Regions from separate parts of the Homo sapiens genome. Here region 1 is linked to region 2. The links are contacts of gene promoters, found by promoter capture Hi-C in human tissues and cell types (Jung and others, 2019). All regions are on one chromosome and are shown on one strand. The core of a region is centred on a gene start or on the middle of the fragment in contact, and the rest is flanking DNA. Distances in the headings are between cores, read along the strand shown. Region 1 overlaps GBF1 (golgi brefeldin A resistant guanine nucleotide exchange factor 1). Region 2 holds the start of ELOVL3 (ELOVL fatty acid elongase 3).

Region 1 (3,297 bases), core at 395-2,894, 83 kb before region 2:
CTGCTCATGTCACCTCTAATAAACAGAAAAATCAACCCCTTCCTCAATCCCTGCTCAAATGTGGCTTGGGGGTGATAAAGAACAGTCTTGGTGTATAGGCCACAAACTGATCAACCTCCCATAGTTAATGTGTAAACCCCAAATCTCTCCTAGGTTAATGATGCTGCAAGGTTTTCTTAGTGCCAAGAAAAACACCTAGTGCTTATACTCATTAGAATACAAATGTGCGTGCAGGCCTCTAGTCTAGGGAATGCCAGCAGTAGAAATGACCTAACAGAGATCTAACACAAATTAAGAGGAATCTCAACTAATACAGGCGTAGCAGACCTAAAATATTCAGTGCTAATCAGCATATCATGTTTAATAGGAATAATCTGAAAAACCAAAATCAGGAAAAACAAGGATAAGTAGGGCACATGTACAGCTTCAATTTCATCTTAGGAAGCTAGTTTGAAAATATAACCTCCTTTTGATCAATAGAACATGAGGCACGACTTTTCCCACTCTGTCAAGATTCTTTTGTCTTTTTCAGCTACTGACACTTTTTACTCTGACATCAAACAGTAAGAATAGACTTGCCTTGAAGGCGAAACATATGTACCCTATCACTTTTCCAATTCACCACTTCTACCAACAACAAATCCACCTAAATACCGTAACTATCCACATGGCTTCTTTCCAGTTCCATAATACCCAGTACAACTCTTCAAGCCCAACAGAAAAGATGAGGACTATATATGTTTAAAATACAGTTGGTTGTATTTTCCCTAAATTATACAAATGAAAACCAAGAACCAAAAAATGAGATTTTTCTACAACTTAGAAACCCAGACTATATTAACACTAGAATTGAAACTAATTTCTAGGACTAACTCAGCATCACTAAATTAGCTTCTGGTTAAAATTTTATGCCAACAGATCTAGAATGGGGAGAAAATTCAGGAGAAGAGTAAAACAAAATCTTACCTTTCATTCTACAACTAATAATGAATTAAATTCCAGATCCATAAACAAGGACACACAAAAATCATAACTAGGTTATGATTTAACTAAAAAACAAAGATGAAAACAAAACCCCAAACCAGCCTTATCTCAACAAATACAGTGCACAAGAATCTCCTCATCAGCTATGGGAGGTGAACAAGCAATATCTCACTTACAAATGAGAACAGTGAAGCAAAGCTTTAAAAAGCCACAAACTCAGCTTACTAAAGAAAAAGAACAAGCTTCACATTTACAACCTCTGGGGACTGACCCTGATGGGGTAAAAATCAGTATTACAGAAGAAATAGTAGACCTCCTTCTTGCCATTTCATTTTCGTGACCTTATACTCATTTCCCCAAAGGCCATCTTATTAGAGCTGATGACTAAAATAATTTACACACTTGCATCCACAGATTTAACATTTACTATTTCAGCTATTCAAGAGTGACTCTGAAGGAAGTCCCAAGACAAGCTGTAATTAATAACTTTTCTGAGACATGAGTTTGATTCCTGCTCTAAGGCTGATTGGTAGCAGTAAGTTGTTCACCTAGTGACTGGGCCTAGCTGATTACTCAGTTGTGCAAATTGAAGCCCTCTCTCCTCCATCAGCTCTAATAAGACAACACCATTAAGTGCATAACTCAATGAATTTTGCAAACCTAACCACTCATGTAGTCGGCACTCAGATCAAGACACAGAGCACTATTAGGACCCAGAAATCCCAATCATGACTTCTTCCAGTTGCAATCCCTCCAAAGATAATCATTATTCTAACTTCTTAAACCACTGATTTTCTCTGCCTGAACTTTACATAAATGGCATCATGAAGTAGAAGCTCCTTTGGTTTGGCTTCTTTTTTTTTTTAATTTTATTATTATTATACTTTAAGTTTTAGGGTACATGTGCACAATGTGCAGGTTAGTTACATATGTATACATGTGCCATGCTGGTGTGCTGCACCCATTAACTCATCATTTAGCATTAGGTGTATCTCCTAATGCTATCCCTCCCCCCTCCCCCTACCCCACAACAGTCCCCAGAGTGTGATGTTCCCCTTCCTGTGTCCATGTGTTCTCATTGTTCAATTCCCACCTATGAGTGAGAACATGTGGTGTTTGGTTTTTTGTCCTTGCGATAGTTTACTGAGAATGATGATTTCCAATTTCATCCATGTCCCTACAAAGGACATGAACTCATCATTTTTTATGGCTGCATAGTATTCCATGGTGTATATGTGCCACATTTTCTTAATCCGGTCTATCACTGTTGGACACTTGGGTTGGTTCCAAGTCTTTGCTATTGGGAATAGTGCCGCAATAAACATACGTGTGCGTGTGTCTTTATAGCAGCATGATTTATAGTCTTTTGGGTATGGATTGGCTTCTTTCACTCAATATTATGCTGGAGAAAGTCATCTGTGTTGTAAGATATTGTAGTTTACTAATTCTCATTTATTTATAGTATTCCACTATGAGAATTTTCACATTTTACTTATCCATTTTATTTCTGATGGAGATTTGGGCAGTTTCCTCTTTTTTTTTTTTTTTTTTAGCTTCTGTGAACAACACTGCTATAAACATTCTCATAAACATCTTTTGGTGAACATATATATGATTACCTGCTGGGCATATTCTTAGAAATGTAATTGCTGGCAAATCAGCTCTTGTAGATGCAGCCAGCTTTCCAATTTACCCTATTTACCCTTAGGGTATGAAAGTCTGAGTTACTCCACATCCTTGCTATCACTTGATATTGTGTATCTTTTTCATTTTTGCTATTTTGCTCTATGTGTAGTAGTATTCTATGGTGGTTTTGAAGTTCCCTAATGACTAATGAAGTTGAGCACCTTTTCTTATGTTTACTGATTATTTAGGTATCCTCTATTGTGAATGTCTGTTCAAGTCTTTCTCCCATTTTCCTACTGGGAAATCTGATTTTTTGTTTTTTTTGTTTTTTTTGAGACGGCGTCTTGCTCTGTCACTCAGTCAGGCTGGAGTGCAATGGCGCGATCTCGGCTCGTTGCAACTCTGCCTCCCGGGTTCACGCCATTCTGCTGCCTCAGCCTCCCCGGCAGCTGGGACTATAGGCACCCGCCACCACGCCCGGCTAATTTTTTTGTATTTTTAGTAGAGATGGGGTTTCCCTGTGTTAGCCAGGATGGTCTCAATCTCCTGACCTTGTGATCCGCCTGCCTTGGCCTCCCAAAGTGCTGGGATTACAGGCGTGAGCCACTGTGCCCAGCTGGGAAATCTGCTTTTTTCTTATTGATTTACACCGGTTCTCACAGGGACCTTTTTTTTTTTTTTTTGCCA
Region 2 (3,406 bases), core at 907-3,406:
TCCCCATAATGCCCCACATCCTCACTGCCCCCAGGATACTGAAATGGGACAAAGGAAGATGGTGTAAGTGTCATCCCCAGGCACCAATAATCCACCCTTCCCCCGGCTTGGCCAGGTTACTGTGTTCCAAGCTCTACCACCTCCCCACCTGTCCACAGGGGGTGGGTCAAAGCTCCTGAGATCCTGAAGCCAATCTGGTAGATCCAATCAGTAGTCTAGAGGAGACGAGGGCTGGAGAAAGATCAGGGAATGCAGGGGGATGGGACTGAAAGTTGAGTTAAGGAATGGGGTTCTTGGGAGGGGTTAGGAGCCTGGGAGGAGATGTGTAGAGGGATAGGGGAAGACTGAAGGAGTTTGGGGGAGAAAATATGGGGAAGTTATTGGAGGGTCTTGAGAGAGGGTGTTAGGAGGTGACACTATTAGAGGCTGGAGAAATTAGTTGCGAGTACAGACTCTACGAAGGCAAGAGGGACAAAGCAGAGACCACCAGGTAGGGGTCTAAAAGAGAAGGAAAACAGGATAATATAACAGAAGAGGGTGAAGGCTGGGAGGGGAACTAAAGCCGAGAATGAGATGGGGAGAGTGTTACAAGGCAACTTGGGGACAGGATGGAGGTTGATGCAATCGGGAAAGCTTCAAGGGATAGAATGGTGGTCTAAGATCTAGAGAAGAGGCAGGGAGTGGGATGGGGTCTTACCTGAAGATTGCAAGGCAGAAGGACCAGAGGATGAGAGGCCCTTGCAGGTTGAAGCCCTTGCGTTCCTTCATGTAGTTCTGCCCCACAGCGATGAGAACCAGGTAGATCAGGGCTATGGGGAATGAGGTTGCCCTGGCAAGCAGAAGGCAGAGGGATGGGCTCATGGGTGGGTGCTGATTAGAGAAATGCCCACTCATCTCTCCAGGTGAGTGCTCTGGGTTGGAGTCCCAGTTCTGCCACTTACTAGCTATGTGACATTGGAAAAACCAACTTAATTCTCTGAGCCTTGGCTTCCTCATTTGTAGAGCGCGAATACTACATCTCTCCTGGGGGTATTAACGTATACAAAGTATCTAGCACAGGGCAGGAGCTATGTCCAAGGTTTCTGTGATTATTGCTCTCTCAGTGGGGTTAGAGGTGGGTGACGGCTGTCTGGCCCGCGCCTAGAAGCAGCCCAGGGCTGTGGTGTAAGAAGTGTGGCAATAGCTTCTCCCTGGTTGGGGCTCCTAGAAGCATACCAGGGCTGTGGCGTAAGAAGAATGTGGCAATAGCTTCTCCCTGGCTGGGGTATGGCAAATTGGTTGGAGCATAAAGTCAGCCTCCAAAACCTCTGGGGAGCTTTAAGGCAAAGCCAGAGAGCTCTTCCTGGGGAAAGCTTGGAAGAGCTCTCTGACTTCGCCTCCTTCTCCACAGCAGGAACGGTGGAGCACCTGGGGAACGATGGGATAATTGTAAAGGGCAGGCTGTCCCCCGGGCCCTGCACTGTGCACACACGCGCGCACACACAGCCACAAAGGACGGGGAAGTCATCTAGTAAGGCTTCAGATCAACCTCACGCCTCCAAGACCCTTCTCACTACACGCTCTCTTTGACTTCTGTATATTTCCACGTTCTCCCTCATCCTCTTATTTCTGCTTGCTTGCTTTCAGCTCTAATCTCTTTGAGGTGCCACATACTACCTGCACCTCGGACAAAGGTAGTGTGAAGCCAGTACAAGGGAGTCCCATAACTCTGCTCTGTAAGAAAATCATTGTGGGCATTCAATGCCACCCCCTCGCGCCCCGGCCCCGGGGCCCTGGCATGGCCTTTCCCTCTCCCAAAGTCTCACCAATACTCCTCGAAAAAGGGCCTCATGTCCTTGGACAGCTCGAAGTTATAGGGCTGGAACAGCTGATTTACTTCATGTGAGACATTCATGGCTGTGACCATCTAGTTTTGCAGAAGTCAAGGTCCAAAGCTTGGAGGCGCTGGGTGAAAGGCTGGGGCTCCGAGGATGGCGTGAACCTCGGGGCGAGACGGAACAGAGCCGGGACAGAAGGAACTCCTGGGCAAAGGGAGGAGGGCGTCGAACCTAGGCATGTGCGCGGCGGCGCAGCCAGCTATCCCGGGCGCAGCCACTGCGATATATAACGCGGACTTGCAAAGCTGCCTGCCCGGGCTGGCGCGACCTCTTTCCTGCGCCCCGCCGCTATCCAATCTCGACCAAGATACGCCTCTGCTCCGCCCCTGGGACGCAGTCCGCATTCTGATTGGTCATACTCAAGGGCCCGCCTGCCAGGCGTTTCGCACACCCCGCCCCAAGTCCCGTCGTAGGCCATCGCCCGCCCACTTCCCCAGCCTTTTCTCCCGTAAAACGTCCACCCCATCCTGTGCGGCCTTGCGGGTTCCCTTGGAACTGTCAACCGTGGCCTTTGCCTCGGTTTGCTTTAATCTTGACCTGCTTAGCAGTGAAGAGAGAGGAAAGGTGTCCTTAGGCTTTGGTGCTCCCACCCAGAAATGGAGGCGTCAGTTTCCAGGCTCCCTGAGATCCTGGGAAACCCAGGCCTGTGATGAGCAAATACTAACCTGGGCAACGCAGAGCTTCTGTAGTCCCTTCCACCTCCTAGCTTCGAGTCTGCGGTTGTGAGTGGGTGGAAGGAGATGAATTTTAAGGAGTTTTATTGTTGAGGTTGTTGATGTTGATGTTTGGGTTGTTGAGGCTGTTGTGGTTTCTTTATAGTTTCCTGAATTCCTGAACTGCTCCAGACTGACAGTAATAACCATGGAGAGAGGAAATGGGGTCACCCTCTGGGCTTCTGGAATTATTGTCTTCAGGTTTCCTGGAGGCCTCTTAGGGTTTAGGGAGGGGGAGAGCCAGTGTATCTCCCCAAGGCCTGTTGTTTTCTCTCCCTAACCAAATCTACTTCTTTCTCGCCTGTGTAACCAGCCCCAAAGAAATAAATGTTCTAAAACTTTTAAAAGTTTTACTTGGCTGTCCCTTATTTCTTTCCTAGGTTTTATGAAAGCGAAGGAGAAATACAAGGCTTGAGGGCAGTTTGAGATAAGGTGGAAATTTGCAAAAAGTGCTAAGAAACATAGATATAAAATAATTAAAATCAAGATGTGGGTATAAATGGCTATGTGCAGTAAAGCTCTAGAGCCAGAGGATCCAAGTAGGAACCCCAGCTCTATTTCCTGAACCTCAGCCACTGTCTATGCGAGGGTGTAGTGGAAGTCCTATCAGTGCCATCTAAGTGACTCAAAAGTGCATCTCTTTGTCTCTGTACCTCATCACTTCTCACCTGGTCACGTTACCTGGTTGCACTGCCTCTTTCTCTAATACAGTGCTTCTGCTCTTCACTGCATTGCAATCAGAAAAGAGTTCCTATACCTGGCTGATTACCAGATTCCTGAGCCTCAACTGCAGAGATTCTGGTCCTATAGGTTGTC

The links. The method cuts DNA at HindIII sites, captures the fragments that hold promoters and counts their contacts. A contact is called where the count stands out against the background at its distance.
Region 1: a contact is called between a fragment that was not itself captured here and the fragment with the promoter of ELOVL3 in region 2, in 2 of the 25 tissues and cell types used here (IMR-90 fibroblasts and dorsolateral prefrontal cortex).

The regions. Positions count from the first base shown.
Region 1 is chr10:102,307,440-102,310,736 of GRCh38, reverse strand. The region is part of intron 3 of GBF1 (golgi brefeldin A resistant guanine nucleotide exchange factor 1); the gene reads right to left. Among named protein-coding and RNA genes, the nearest start is that of GBF1, 64 kb to the right of the region's middle. The HindIII fragment of the contact is 4,534 bases long and covers 1-3,297 here.
Region 2 is chr10:102,225,049-102,228,454 of GRCh38, reverse strand. ELOVL3 (ELOVL fatty acid elongase 3) reads right to left here and starts at 2,156. Exons shown (of 4, transcript NM_152310.3): 1 at 1,806-2,156; 2 at 698-829; 3 at 1-38. The coding sequence starts at 1,906. RefSeq lists a silencer at 2,125-2,174. The HindIII fragment of the contact is 12,375 bases long and covers 1,644-3,406 here.